Linked DNA regions of Homo sapiens: region 2 is linked to region 1. The links are contacts of gene promoters, found by promoter capture Hi-C in human tissues and cell types (Jung and others, 2019). All regions are on one chromosome and are shown on one strand. Each heading gives the region's core, a stretch centred on a gene start or on the middle of the fragment in contact. The rest is flanking DNA. Distances are from core to core; before and after follow the strand shown.

The links. The method cuts DNA at HindIII sites, captures the fragments that hold promoters and counts their contacts. A contact is called where the count stands out against the background at its distance.
Region 2: a contact is called between a fragment that was not itself captured here and the fragment with the promoter of ZNF816 in region 1, in 1 of the 25 tissues and cell types used here (IMR-90 fibroblasts).

Annotation. Positions count from the first base shown.
Region 1 is chr19:52,959,156-52,967,033 of GRCh38, forward strand. It overlaps ZNF816 (zinc finger protein 816), which reads right to left and starts at 3,726. Exons shown (of 4, transcript NM_001202457.3): 1 at 3,572-3,726. ZNF816-ZNF321P (ZNF816-ZNF321P readthrough) reads right to left here and starts at 3,726. Exons shown (of 4, transcript NM_001202473.2): 1 at 3,562-3,726. RefSeq lists an enhancer at 3,444-3,693 and a silencer at 3,754-3,953. The HindIII fragment of the contact is 7,894 bases long and covers 598-7,878 here.
Region 2 is chr19:53,093,147-53,101,024 of GRCh38, forward strand. The region is part of intron 1 of ZNF160 (zinc finger protein 160); the gene reads right to left. Among named protein-coding and RNA genes, the nearest start is that of ZNF160, 6.3 kb to the right of the region's middle. The HindIII fragment of the contact is 5,693 bases long and covers 798-6,490 here.

The sequences.
Region 1 (7,878 bases), core at 2,476-4,975:
GCAGATAAACTAACTCTTAGGCAAAACCTGAACATAAAGGCCCCCCATGCTGTGGTGACTTTAATGAATACCAAAAGACATCATTGGCTAATGAATGCTAGACTAAACAAGTACCAAAGCTTGCTCTGTGAAAATCCCCACATAACCATTGAAGTTTGTAACACCCTGAACCCCGCCACCTTACTCTTGGTATCAGACAGCCCTGTTGAGCATAACTGTGTAGAGGTGTTGGACTCAGTTTACTTTAGCAGGCTTGACCTTTGAGACCAGCCTTGGGCATCAGTAGACTGGGAGCTATAAGTGGACAGGAGCAGCTTCAACAGCCCACAAGGAGAGAGATGTGCAGGATATGCGGTAGTAACCCTGGACACTGCCATTGATGCCAGATCGTTGTCCCAGGGCACTTCAGCCCAGAAAGCCGAGCTCATTGCTTTAATTCAGGCCTTAGAACTCAGTGAAGGTAAGACTGAAAATATTTACACTGACTCTCGGTATGCCTTTTTAACCCTTCAAGTGCATAAAGCATTATATAAAGAAAAGGGCCTGTTGAACTCTGGAGAAAAAGACATAAAATATCAGCAAGAAATCTTGCAATTATTAGAAGCAGCATAGAAACCCCACAATGTGGCAGTCATGCACTGCAGAGGACACCAGCGAGCTTCCACCTCGGTTGCCTTAGGGAACTCCAGAGCTGACTCAGAAGCTCGAAAAGCAACATCCACACCCTACTGGGCATCAGTCACAGCCCCCTTGCTCCCTCAAGCACCTGACCTTGTACCTACTTATTCTAAAGAAGAAAAAGACTTTCTCCAGGCAGAGGGAAGACAGGTGATGGAAGAAGGAAGGATCCGGTCACCAAATAGGACAGTACCTGTGCCACAGCTGCTAGGAGCCACAGTTGTACTGGAGGTGCATGAAACCACCCATCTAGGTCAGGAGTCACTTGAACAGTTGTTAGGCTGGTACTTCTACAGCTCACAATTGTCAGCCCTCGCCAAAACCGTGGCACAGCGGTGTGTTACCTGCCGACAGCACAATGCGAGGCAGGGTTCAGCCATTCTGCCCGGCATACAAGCTTATGAAGCAGCCCCCTTTGAAGATCTCCAGGTGGACTTCACAGAAATGCCAAAGTGTAGAAGTAACAAGTATTTACTAGTTCTCGTGTGTACCTACTCTAGGTAGGTGGAGGCTTATCCCACACGAACTGAGAAAGCTCATGTGCTTCTTCGAGATCTTATTCCTAGATTTGGACGGCCCTTACGAATCAGCTCGGATAACGGGCTGGAGTTTGTGGCTGACTTAGTACAGACGACAGCAAAGGTATTAAAGATCACGTGGAAACTGCATGCTGCCTTCTGACCTCAGAGTTCTGGAAAGGTGGAGTGAATGAATCGGATTATCAAAAATAGCTTAAGGCCTTAGGAAAAATTACACAAATGATTTCAGCCCAGGTAAATGAGAGATGCCCCATTAGCTTATTCTCCCCAGTTCACTCTTTCTCCCCGGGTGATTGAGTGTGGATCAAGGACTGGAACGTAGCCCCTGTGTGCCCCCACTGGAAAGTACCCCAGACCGTCATCCTGACCACTCCCACCGCTGTGAAGGTAGAAGGAATCCCGGCCTGGATCCACCACAGCCATATAAAACCTGCAGCGCCTGAAACCTGGGAGGCAAGGCCAAGCCCAGATAACCCCTGCAAAGTGACCCTGAAGAAGACGACAAGCCCTGCTCCAGTCACACCCGGAAGCTGACTGGTCCTACGCACAGTGGAAGCATGAGGAAGCTCATCGTGGGACTCATTCTTCTTAAATTTTAGACTTGTACAGTAAAGGCTTCAACTGACCTTCCTCAAACTAAGGACTGTTCCCAGTGTATTCATCAGGTCACTGAGATAGGACAGCAAATTAAAACAATCTTTCTGTTCTATAGTTATTATGAATGTACAGGCACGTTAAAAGGATCTTATTTGTATAATTCCACTCAATACAAGGTACGTAGCCCAGGAAATGACAAACCTACTATGGGTTATAACCCATCTAAGCCTCCTGCAACCACCGTTTTTCAAATAAGATTAAGAACTGGTCCTTTCCTAGGTGACACAAGTAAAATAATAACTAGAACAGAAGAAAAAAGAATCCCCAAACAAGAAACTTTAAATTTGATGCTTGTGCAGCCATTAATAGTAACAAGCTCAGATTAAGATGTGGCTCTCTTAACTAAGAAAGGAGCTGCACAGTAGAAAATAAATGTTTGTCATGAGGCAGAGGTCTGTGAAAATTTGCCTGTTGCCCATGTGTTATTTAGGCTACTTAGAAAAATGACAAAAAAGACCCGGTTCACTTTCAAAAAAAAGAAGCCAACCCCTCCTGTGCTAGCAGTCACTGTAACCCACTAGAACTAATAATCACTAATTCCCTAGACCCCCGTTAGAGAAAAAGAGAAGGTGTAATCCTGACGGTCAATAGGACAAGGGTAACCCCCCAAGTTGCCATTTTAGTCCGAGGGGAGGTCCCCAGGCCCTTTCCCAAACCAGTGTTTCAAGCCTTTTATAATGAGCTAAATCTGCCAGCACCAGAGCTTCCAAAAAAGACAAGGAACTTGTTTCTCCAGTTAACGGAAAATGTAGCTCATTCCCTCAATGTTGCTTCTTGTTATGTACGCGGAGGAACTACTGTTGGAGACCGATGGCCTCAGGAAGCCCGAGAGTTGGTGCCCACTGATCCAGTTCCTCACACAATTCCAGCTCAGAAGGCCCAAACTAGCAACTTCTAGGTCCTAAAAACCTCAGTTATTAGACAATACTATGTAGCTAAGGAAAGAAAAAACTTCAGCAACCCCGTAAGAAAGCTCAATTGTCTAGGACAGAAGTTGTATACAACAGCACAACAAGGACAGTCACTTGGTGAGGCTTAAACCACACTGAAAAGAACTCATTACGTAAATTTTCTAAATTACAGACTGCCTAGGCTCATCCAGAATTTCATTGAGACTGGACGGCCCCCGCTGGACTATACTAGTCCAGGCACAGAGACTATACTATACTATACTAGTCCAGGCACAGGCTATACTAGTCTGTAGGCACAGAGACCCATCTCCAACAACAAAGAAGAAAAGTGAAAATCTGGGTCCTGGCTCTGGGAATCTAAGGCCAATTAATGTGAACTTTGCAAAACTAGACCAAAAGGAATAACCCCATCTCCCCACCCGTAGTAACAAAGGATCAAAGGGTACTCTCCCTGTAGCCCTCCCACTTCCACCACGTCTCAGATGGAAAGGGAAAGAGCCCAGGAGTGGCCACAAAGCACCGGCCACCCTGGGGCTGCGGGGCTGCAACGCTGCGCTCCAGGGGCCGACTAGAGCGAGGCTGGGAAGCGCTCTTGCCCAGGGCAAGAATCCAGCTCCGGGTGAGGACTTGAAACAGCGCGAGGCGGGAGGACGCGTCAGAAAGGGTTTTGCTAAGGAAAGTTTCGCGACAGGAGGTGTCTGCACGGCCCCACTGCAGAAAGACCGGGGACGGGACCAGCCTCAGGGCAACTTTAAACTCAAAAGGAAGCGACTCACGGACTCTCACCCGGACGTTTCAATTTGCTCTGGGTTGAGAAAAGAGGGGCCGGAACCTGCAGGTCTGTGGGGACCCCACGTCCCCTATATAGCAGCACCAGACAACTAGGAAACGCACACGCCGCCGTGCAACTTTCAGTCCACGCCATCCGCTTCCGGGTCTGTGCCAATCGGCGCAGGACAGAAGCGGGACCTGGGCCAGATCCCCGAGAGGTGGGCGGGGCCTGGGCGAGGCCGGGGCGGGGTGCAAAGGACAAGGGGCCCGGCGCGGAAGAGAAGAGTCTTGGGCTGGGAGGAGTCCGCGGGGGCGGGAAAGGGGCGGGGCCTGAGCTTTTCTCCATCTCGCTCTCCGCGCCTCTGTTTTCAAGGTTTTAGAGGTGAAACCCGCCAGTGAGGCTGGAGCAGCTCAGCAGTCAGGGAAATAGTACCTCCCTGAGAAGTCGCCGTGTGGCGGTAATTGGATCCGGGAAAGTTCCTTGCTATTGAAATTTATTTTAGCAATTTAATTCCAAAGCCTGGAAGTTGTCTACGGCAGGAATGCAAACTAGAATGCGAAATGCAAAGCCTTGCCTGAGCGAAAGGTACAATTTCATGCTGACGGTCCACAGAACAGAATAGAAATCCTCTCCCTTTCAATTCTCCATTCACTGGAGTGGGAGAGTCCACACTGTGCTCAGCTCCTGAGACTTCCCTAGGGCCACCGTCTGGGGTGCGGAGCAGAGGAGTGTGCTTAAACACAGCAGGGATGCGGGCGGGGTGGCAGGAGTCTGGGGTCCCCGCTACTCAGGAAGCAGGGGCGAGAGGATCGCTGAGCCTGGAGTTCCAGGCCAGCCTGGGCGACAAAGTAAGACCCTCTATCCCAGAGCTCCCTCCTCCGTCTCAATAAACAAAAAAGTGATTTAAAAAAAGCACTGACATTGTAACAGTGCATATAAGTTGCCCAGTTGTTTCTTACGTTTATTATTTCATGCTGCACTTAAAATGAGTTATTTTTGTCGTGGAAAAGAATCAAACTGTAAAATATCTTAAGAGATTTATTCTAAGCTAAATATGAATGACCCTCAGGAGGTCCTGAGAACATGTGTCCAAGGTGATGGGGAACAGCTTGTTCTTAGACATTTTAGGGAGGCATTAGACATCAATCAAATACATTTAAGAAATACGCTGCTTTGGTTCAGAAAGGAGGGGCAACTCAAAGCGGGGACTTCTGGGCTACAGGTAAATTGAAACATTTTCTGATTGACAATTGGTTGAGTTTGTCTAAATACCTGGGATCAACGGAGAGGAAATGTTCACGTTAAGGTAAAAGATTGTGGAGACCAATGTTGTTTTCAAGTCTTCTATTGGCTGCCCTTAGAGATAATAGATGATAAGTGTTTTCTATTCAGACCTTTAAACAGTGCGAGATTCTTACTTAATCTCTTCAGGATTGGTAGGGCCTAGAAGAAAAAGATCTAGCTATGTTAACAGAGATTCTTTACAAATGCACATGTACCCCTCACAAAGAACAGCTTTGCAGGACCATTTCAAAATATGGCACAGAAACATGTTTTGGGGTAAAATATTTTGACTTTCTTCTTTGTCACGTTATTCCAGAGTCAGACTGGAAAGTAAGACAGGATATATAGGACTAAATAAAACCCATCTGATGAGTATTTATGGTTTGTAGGGCATGACTCCCCAGACCCTTTAGATAGGAATTTGGGCAAGAGAAAAAAATTAGACCTTGGTCCTCATTCTCAAATTCTTTTTTTAAAAAATAATTCCTAAGTGTATTGTAATATCAAATTCACTTTACGTGCCTTCTGAAAATAAGTAGAAAATGTACTTTTTATCTTCAAGTTGTAATTTTTTTTTCCCTAGAAACAGGACCTAGTTCTGACACCCAGGATGGAATGCAGTGGTGGGAACACTGCCCACTGCAACCTCAACCTCTGGGGCTCAAGCAATCCTCCCGTCTCACCTCCCAACTAGCTGGGGCCACAGGCCCTCACCACCAGGCCTGGCTAATTTTTTAATATTTTGTAGAGTCGGGGGTCCACTATGATGCTTAGGCTGGCCTTGAACTCCTGTACTCAAACAATCCTCCCACCTTAGCTTCCCAAAGTGTTGGGATTAAAGGCGAGCTACCACACCCATCCAATTGTAATCTATTTTGGGTGTTTTCTTTGTTGTTCTCTCCTAAGTGTTCTATCAGGTGTGAACAACAAAGGCTGTAAAATAGGCAGTCTTCAAACATTGGGATTTATTTTCATATAGAGAATAATTATGAGATATTACTAAGGATACATTGCAGTCAGGTTATTCTGTTTTACGTGGGCCCTGAAGAAAATATAACTAAATTACAAAATTGGCTGGGTGTGATGGCTCACACCTGTAATCCCAGCACTTTGGCAGGCCTAGGCGAATGGATCACCCTGAGGTCAGGAGTTTGAGATCAGCCTGGCCAACACAGCGAAACCCCATCTGTACTAAAAATACAAAAATTAGCTGGGCATGGTGGCATGCGCCTGTAATCTCAGCTACTCAAGAGGTTGAGGCAGGAGAATTGCTTGAGCCCAGGCAGCAGAGGTTGCAGTGAGCTGACATCTCACCATTGCACTCCAGCCTGGGCAACAGAGTGAGACTGCATCTCAAAAAAAGAAAAAAAAAATTATAAACTTTTACATCACCGCATTTCTGCATGCAATAATTTTATGGCAATATCTGTAAGTTAACATGTACTATGAACTATATTTTTCACTCACATCCCTAGTTATCGAAGGTTTCATTTATCAAATACTAGTAATTAGCTAAAACATAATTATGTTTAGGAAGAAATTAGCATATCTAAAATATTAGCAAGTTTAAAAAAGCATAATGTGGCCAGGGATGGTGGCTCGTGCATGTAATTCCAGCATGATGGGAGACCGAAGCAGAAAGATAGCTAGTGGCCAAAAGTTGGAGACCAGCCCAGGCACATGGTGAAACCTCATCTTTATATTTTAAATATTTATGTATCTATGTATTCATTTATTCATCTTTGAGATGGAGTTTCATTCTCATTGCTTAGGCTGGAGTGAAATGGTGTGGTCTCGGCTCACTACAACCTCTGTCTCCTGGGTTCACGTGACTCTCCTGCCTCAGCCTCCCGAGTAGCAGGTATTACAGGCATATGCCACCATGCCTGACTAATTTTCTATTTTTACTAGAGACGGGGTACCTCCATGTTAGTCAGGCTGGTCTCGAACTCCCGACCTCAGGCGATCCACCCACCGCAGCCTCCCAAAGTGCTGGGATTAGAGGCCTGAGCCACCATACCCAGCCTCTATGTAGCTTTGTAAAAAATCCTTGTAGCTGTCTCTTTTAGGAATAAAATGGGAGGCAGGTTTGTCTGACACAGTTCCCAGCCTGACTTTTCTCTTTGGCTTAGTAATTTTTAAGCTTCTTTCACAACCTTCTGACAGACATAATGCTTTGACACACTGATATTGGTTTATATAGATTTTCCAAAACAGTAAAGTCCAAGGGTCTATCCTGAACTGGGTTAGCGGAGGCGAGAAGATTCCCAGAAGACTCCTGATCTCAAGCAATCCTCCCACCTCAGCCTCCGAATGTGTGAGGACCACAAGTGTGATCCACTGAACCCAGTGGAGTCTCCATCTCAAAAAAAACCAAAAAGCAATACGGGAATTAAGGTACTCTATGGAATTACATCATTTGACTTTTTTTTGAAATGAAAAGCCTCACATATTTATTACTGAACCCAGCCAACCAACATGTTCATAACAGATTCAGAGAGAAAAAATATATTCCCAATAAAACATGTCCAACTCTCCAGATAATGGTGACATTTTCTGCTTGATATGGTAACGTGATTGTAATGCTCAGACAGCATAAAAATGTGTGCCATCTCATGTACAATTCCTTATAGACACGGATTGGTTCTTCTCCAATGTCTCCTTTTAAAGTTGTACCTGATTTTATTACCAGTTTTCATCTGAATCCACTGGGGAATGGAACAATTTTGCTTTTTTTCTTGGCCAGGAATTGCTTAATCCTGATAGTCTTATGAGAAGATCTGGTGAGAAGCAGAGTCAAGTACACACCATGATGGTGGAGAAAGGAAGAGAAGGGGCTTGACATCTTTTTTTTTTTTTTTTTTTTTTTTTTTTTGAGAGAAAGTTTCACTCTTGTTGCCCAGGCTGGAGTGCAATGGCACTATCGGTTCACTGCAACTTCCACCTCCTGGGTTCAAGCGATTCTCCCACCTCAGCCTCCCAAGGAGCTGGGATTACAGGTGTCTGCGACCATACCTAGCTAATTTTTGTATTTTTA
Region 2 (7,878 bases), core at 2,394-4,893, 130 kb after region 1:
ATTTCTGGCCGGGCACGGTGGTTCATGCCTGTAATCCCAGCACTTCACTTTGGGAGGCCGAGGCAGGTGGATCACCTGAGGTCAGGAGTTCAAAACAAGCCTGGCCAACATGGTGAAACGTTGTCTCTACTAAAAATACAAAAATTAGCCAGGCGCGGTGGCAGCGCCTGTTATCCCAGTTACTAGGGAGGCTGAGGCAGGAGAATCACTTGAACCTGGGAGGCAGAGGCTGCAATGAGCCAAGATCGTGCCACTGCACTCCAGCCTGGGCAACAGAGCAGGACTCCATCTAAAAAAACAAAAAAAAAGAAGAAAGGATGGAAGGGGGAGGCTTAACCTTTGCTATCTGCTAGGATTACAGGGTCAAAATCGGCTTCTACATTGTCAACACATAACACCAAGTGAAACTCAAAACTAATGAACTTGCCCTGGTACCTTGGCCTTTGAGACTCGGCACTGAATCCAGCCTGGGCAACATAGTAAGACCCCATCTATACAAAAAAATTTAGAAATTATCCAGGTGTGGTGGTGCATGTCTATAGTCCCAGCTATTCAGGAGGCTGAAGTGAGTGTGAGATTGCAGTGAGCTATGATCGCACCACTCCAGCCTGGGTGACAGAGCCTGTCTCAAAAAACAAAAAACAGAAGAAAAAAGCTTTGAAGGGCACTCAGCCTTCACTGTGGGTGTACTGAATGTTCCTGTCACACATAAGAGACATCATTAACTGCTAAAGGAAAATTTCAGCTAATTGAAAAAATGAGATGCACCAACTTCATTTCAAAGCCATATACATTTAAAATTCCCTTACAATTGTGTAATAGATCAACAATTGAAAGATAAGGAAACAAGGCATTAGTGATGCACATGCTCCAATGAGACCCCGATATCATACAAGGTAACACTCCAAACTATTTTATCTTCCAAAATGCATCCGAAAGCTTCTTGATCTACAACACAAAATACTCCAAAATACCAAAGGTAACCCAGAAATTTATCTCTGAGATTTTCCCTATAATTCCTCTATTTTAAAAAGTATTCTTTATGTTTAAGGGAATGGTTGGCGACCTAAATTACCAGATACCGTTCCTCCACACACCCTGGTCCAGGGTCCTTGAAACGCCCCTGGACCTAAGCCCAGAGTTCTCTTTCTTCCATCCCGGTGCCTGGCAAATAGAAATGGAAACGATGTTCCGATCGTTGTCACTATGAAACTGAACACAGCACAAGTAGAAATTTCACCTTCGTTTCATCCTCTAAACAGACAAATCAGGTCCCGGATTAATTAAACGGTTCTAATTGCCAGTTCCAGGATGAAACCACTGCCCCACAGGGACCATCCGCTGATGCCCCTGCACCCCTCCTGGTACCCTGAGCTAAGATGAGTTGTGATCCTCTTAATGGTAGGATGCCTGTCTCCACCTGCAAACAAAATGAGTTTTTCACTTAAATCGTTTTCAATGTAAGAGTAAAAAAACCTTAGCCTTCAATTAAGTGGCCCAGTACCATTCTGTTCTTTTGCCTTAAATTGTTTGAAATGTTGGATTAACTGAAAATAAGCAGGAAGCGTCCCTGGACTGAAAATAAGCCGGAAGCATCCCTGCTTATTAACTGAAAATAAGCAGGAAGCATCCCCGGCTAATTTCAATTAGCTGAAACTTTATTTTAGCAGTGCAATGCTGTTGATCCAGTCCTAGTGGAGAGAAAGGCTGACATAGCAGAAAATGACCTGGGGCCAAGAGGAGTAGAGAGCCCAGGCCCGCTCCTTTCCCGGCCCTGCCCGCTTCCCACAGCCCAGGCTGCACCATAGCAGCTTCCACCCTCCCATCCCGCCGCCCTCTTCCAGCCCTTTCCCGTTGCCCAGACCCCAGCCCAGGGCGACTTTTACCCTTCTCACCCCACCCCTTCCCCACTGCCCAGGCCCCGCCCCCACGGTAGTCCCACCCTCCCACCCCACCCTCTTCCACCCCTTTCCCATTGCCCAGACCGCACCCCAGGGCGACTTTCACCCTCCTCACCCCGCCCCCTCCCCACTGCCCAGGCCCCGCCCACAGCAGTTCCACCCTCCCACACGACCCTCTTGCACCCCTTTCCCATTGCCCAGACCCCACCTCACGGTGGCTTCCACCCTCCCCACCTGGCCTCTCCCCACTATCCAAGACCCGCCTCTCGCTGGCGACAGCTCCCTCCCAGAATCCGCTTCCAGTTTTCTCACCGGCAGGAGAGCATTCAGGCCTTTCAGGGCACTCCAGCCCTGTCCAACCACACTCGGAATCCACCATCCCACCAGACGTTAAAATCCCCAGGTGCGCTCATGGGATTGGTAGCGAGTCCCAGCGTTTCCGCGGGAAACTCTGAGACCCGGTGGCTCTGCAGCTTGTCTATGATTTGAACCCTCCCCTTGATTTGGAGACTGGATTGCTCTTTTTAATACTCCCAGTTGGTGGCTGGTGTGCTTCCCAGCTGTCCGCAGGTTTGTTCTCATGAGAGATGACTCCAGAGTGTCTAGTCTTTGCTTTGCATAACGGATGAGGAATACAAAATGTCTTAATCTTATGAATATATAAATTGTCTGTTTATGCACAATGTTCAGTCGTTTATTCACTCATCTCCCGTGGAATCCTAAGCACAATTATAAAAGAGTCACGTTACATGAGATCAGCGTCTAACACAAAGCTTCTGTCTCAATAACAGTAAATAATAATAGCAACATTAAATGAAATATTAGTATTGCTAAAATGGGAGTGTAGTAAAAATTAAATAAGTAAATAATTAAAAGGAAATGATATATGGTCAGGTGCGGTGACTTATGCTTGTAATCCCAGCACTTTGGGAGGCCGAGGTGGGCAGATCATATGAAGTCAGGAGTTCAAGACCAGCTGACCAACATGGTAAAACCCTGTCTCTACTAAAAATACAAAAAAATGACCCAGGAGTGGTGGCACATGCCTGTAGTCCCAGCTACTCCAGAGGGTGAGGCAGGAGAATTGCTTGAACTCAGGAGACAGAGGTTGCAGTGAGCTGAGATCGCACCACTGCACTCCAGCCTGGGAGACAGAACGAGACTCCGTCTCAAAATAAATAAATAACTGAATGAATGAATGAAATATTAGGCCATTTTTATGGTCTTCACTTTGGGAGACTGATGTATGCAGGGGTGGACTGCATGTTTGTCCTTGGGGTGGTCTTTTTCGTGAGAAGGGAGCTGAGCAGGACTAACTGAGGGGCAGAGCCAAGGGCCCTTCATGGAGACCACTCTGCTTACCAACCTGTGGAAGGGCAAGCGCAAGTCCACCCAGAAACACATCTGGCTGACTATGGGATCCCTGTCTGAGGCTCAGCAGACCCACGTGGCCAATAAAAGACCCTAAATTCTGCAAAAAGAAGAGTTTGTCTCTGTGCCCAGGCCCCTCCATGGAAAAAAGGTCCTGGGGTCTAAGATTTCTCACTTGGCAATGATGTTGGCTTGAATATTATTCACAGACCCAGATCCTTGGGTCTTGCGTGGGGCAAACTGACTGCAGAACTGCAGGAAGTGAGAGTCTGAACAGAGCAGCAGAAAGGCAGGCAGGAGACCTGAGGGAGGGGAGAAAGGAGAGAGACAAACAGACCAACCCGTCCTCTCCCTCAATCACCCGCCTGGGGAAGCATTAGTTTCCCATCATAGAGAGGACAACGGGGAAAGGGAGAAGCGTGTGCATAGGATGAGATGTGTGTTGGGTGGACAGAAAGACTCCTTTCCCTAAATGTGACCCCATTAGCTCACCCCATTCTATTGCACAAATTCCTGAGCGGAGGGGCACCCTGTGGGGATGAACACAGCTCTTCCTGCCTCCAGTTCCTGCGTCTCCCTGCCATGACCAGGGCTGTAACCCTCCAACTCCCTTCCCAGGGCCCCGTGGCCCCTCTGCACTGGAGAAAGGTCCATGTTCCACAGCGGGTTTCAAGGACCTTGCCCCTCAGCTCCCCAGCTGCCTTGTGACTCTGTGACTCTGTTATCTTGGAATAAACAGGGAGAGGCCACCGGCCTGGCTGCAAGAATGTGGCAGCTTTATCTTCCCAAGGACAGTCCCAGTGGAAGCCTTTGGGCCGCAGGTCAGTGTGCTGTGTTTCACTCTGATTCTTGGAGAAATCTTTCCCTTACTCTGGGACCCTGATAATCACTCCCTCTTGAGTTGCACCCACAGACGCCCCCACAACAAACCCTCCCTAATGAAAGCCATCTGCGCCTGATTCTTAGGATCCCCGTTGCCCTCTGGACTCAGACACGCTTACAAACTCCCACACTCCCCATATACTTCATAAAGATCCCACAATCCCCAGATACTTCATAAAGATCCAGAAGCCCTGTTATGAAATCTCACAAGCCCCAGTAACTCATGGAATAATATACACAAACACCCCAGGAACTCACTGACCCAGGGCAACGTATTTCCACTCATAGTGACTCCACCCCACAGGGGAATACCACTGAAACCTACCAATAAAACAGAGATGTCTCTAATGATGCAATTAGACCCCAACATCAGGAAAGGAAACACTCCAAATGATCATTTCATCTTCCAAAACACAACTGAAAGCTTATTGATCTGCAACTGAAAATACCCCGAATGCCAAAGGCAACCCAGAAAATAATCTCTGAGATTCTTCCTATCTTTCCTCTATGGGTTTCAGGATGGTTTTTGCACTTCCCAAAGCCTCCACAGAAATCACCCCGTGGAGCGGATGCTGTGGAGCAGCTCTGGGATCCACACCCTCAGGCCAAGGCGCCCATCCTCCTGCTGCTGAAGCTCCCTCTGGGCTCAGCTTAGGTCTTGGTTCTAAGTACACTTCGGGATGTTTTTCTCTGCCTGATTCCACTGCCTTCAGTCCTCTTCACTGTGATGATGAGTTTCCGAATTAAATTCCTGCATGCAAATCTCTGTGTCAGCATCTGTTTCCCAGGTAACCTGAGCTGAGACATCAGGGCATTACAAAATGATCCTGCAGCCCCACAACCACCCCAAAACCCACTTCCAGGTGCTACAGCCAGACCTGAGACTTCTTTCCAAGTGTGCCACACATCCCGTGAGCCCACAGTCACCTGTGGGCCAGGTGCATGCAGCATTCATCCAGCTCCTCTAGAGGCTCAGCATTGCTTCCACGCCTCACTCCACACCTCTAAGGACTTCTTCACCTGTCCCCATTTTTCTACTTCTCTTCCAGCCTGAGAAGCACACTGGATTGAAAGGCCTCTGGACACAAGCGATGCGGCAGGAATGGACACAAACTGCTATCTGCAGGACAGTGGGCCTCAAGTCTAGATTCTAGAAGTTGGCCATGCTGGAAGGAATTGCCCCCAATTTGGGGACACCATGGAATCCAGTTTAAAGGCAGGTGAAGATTGGCCGGATTGAGCTGGCGGAGGATGTCCAAGAAAAAGAGAGGCCCCAGATCTCATGAGGGAGGCTGCCATTGTCCCCTTGTCTCTCCACTCACAGTCCCCTGCAAAATTCCCCCGCTGTTTAGGGAGTGCCTCCTTCATGGCCCACTTAGCTTCTGAACTTCTCGCCACCCTTCCTGAAGGGAATCCAGGACCCCTGACTGCGAGCGCATCACCTGCTGGAAGGCAAAGCCCCTGCCCAGGATGGCCACCGGGCCCCGGTGATGTGTAGAGCGCGGAAGACCCGGGAGCTGGAGTAAGGCGGTGGGGACGCCTCGGCACTGGCTGAGGACACAGGGTCTGCGGGGCTTTTCAGGCCTCAGTGAGGCCTTCTGCTCTTACATAGACTGGAATAAATAGCCACAGGAAGTTTAGACCAATTACGGATGAAATTTCCAGAATATGAGACCATCCTCACTACCCGCCCTATCCTTTTGGTCTTCCCTGAGGACTCCTCAGCCCGACCCCAGCCCCAGCATCTGAACCACAACCCCAGAGCAGGTGCTGCAGTCGTCCCGTGGCCAAGATGGAGACACAAAACACTCAAAATAATCCATGCAGAAGAGTGTCCGATGTGGTGATGGATGCGGAGACAGTGAAACCTGAGTAACGTGGTAGAGACTGACAGGCAGAGAGAATTTCAGATGGGGGTGCAAGAGGGTGGAAGACAGCTCTGAGGCTAGACCCGAAGGAGAAGAAAGGGACAGAGCTGTGATGATTTGGGGACATAGGGTAAGAGGAGGGACAAAGACTGAGACAGGAAAGGTTTTGATGTTTGGGAAAAGAGAAAAACAAATGTGACTAGGGCAGAGGGAGTCATGAGATGAGGGCAAGCTCCCAGGAGGAGGCTGGACACTGGCAGGGGCCCTGGACGCAGGGCTGTGGAGCCACAGTGAGGAGTTGGGCTTTTGTCCTGGGGAACACGGGAAGCCGGTGGAGGGTTCCCTACCAGGGACTGACATGACTGCTTTAGATTTAGCCATAACTCTAATGCAGAGAAAGGCCTCCAAAGATGGTCTCTCTGCCTCTGAGTCTACACCCCAGCTTCCATCCTTGTGGTTTTGGTTTTGTTTTGTTTTAAATTTTAAAGGACTGAGTCCCATTTAAATTTTTAATTGCAGTGGGCACTCCCCAATTCCTAGAAGAACTGCAAAACACAGATGTACACCCAATTCTGCCAAACATTAAGGGGATTAGTATTGCCCAGACTGAGGTATATTGACTGAGTCCCTCACCTTCACGTTGCAGGTGGATTTACTGAGGGCTAGACGGGGAGATGTTTCACTAAGTCATCCAAGTTGAATTAGAAGATGTATCTGACTCTATGACGGCCTCGAAGGGCTAATGGGCAACACTAGACTTTCTCACGCCTCCCCTGGAAAATTCCAGGATCTTCTTTCACATACCTGGGCAAAAGAAACTTCCCTTTCATGGCTTTATCACATTGATCCCAAACATTTAATTCCTCTTTTCCAGAAAAACACAACATACTAATGAAACGCAGAACTGTGAAAACATGGCTATTGGTGTTGAAAACAGTGAAAGACTGTCAGCTATAGAGATGAGCTCTCTCAGCAAATTTTTTCATGAACACATAAGCTCTGCTGGAATAAGGTTTTGAGTCAATCCAGCCCATCTTTCCACATTTACAGAAAATAGAACTGACAAAAGGGACTTGAGGGGGACATCTGCTTAGTAGTTCACAGGTCACTATTTTAAGAGATGACATAAGGGAAGAAAACTGACTAGTAACAAATAAGTTGGCCGAGCGTGGTGGCTCACGCCTGTAATCCCAGCACTTTGGGAGGCTGAGGCGGGTGGATCACGAGGTCAGGAGATCGAGACCATCCTGGCTACCATGGTGAAACCCCATCTCTACTAAAAATACAAAAAATTTGCCGGGCGTGGTGGCGGCTGCCTGTAGTCCCAACTACTTGGGAGGCTGAGGCAGGAGAATGGCATGAACCTGGGAGGCGGAGCTTGCAGTGAGCCGAGATTGCACCACTGCACTCCAGCCTGGGCGACAGAGCGAGACTCCGTCTCCAAAAAAAAATTAGTTAATAGGTTCTTATGTTAACGTTAAAAAAAAAAGCGTCACTGATATCTTTACCAAATACACATTCATACCATCTAAAATTCCTACTGATGGCCGGCGTAGTGGCTCACGCCTGTAATCCCAGCACTTTGGGAGGGATCACTTGAGATCAGGAGTTTAAGACCAGCCTGGCCAATATAATGAAACCCTATCTCTACTAAAAATACGAAAATTAGCCAGGTGTGGTGGCAGGTGCCTGTAATCCCAGCTACTTGGGAGGCTGAGGCAGGAGAATCACTTGAACCTGGGAGGTGGAGGTGGCAGTGAGCCAAGGTCACACGAGTGCACTACAGCCTGGGCATCAGAGTACCTCCATCTCAAAAAAAATAAATAAGGGCCAGGAGCGGTGGCTCACGCCTGTAA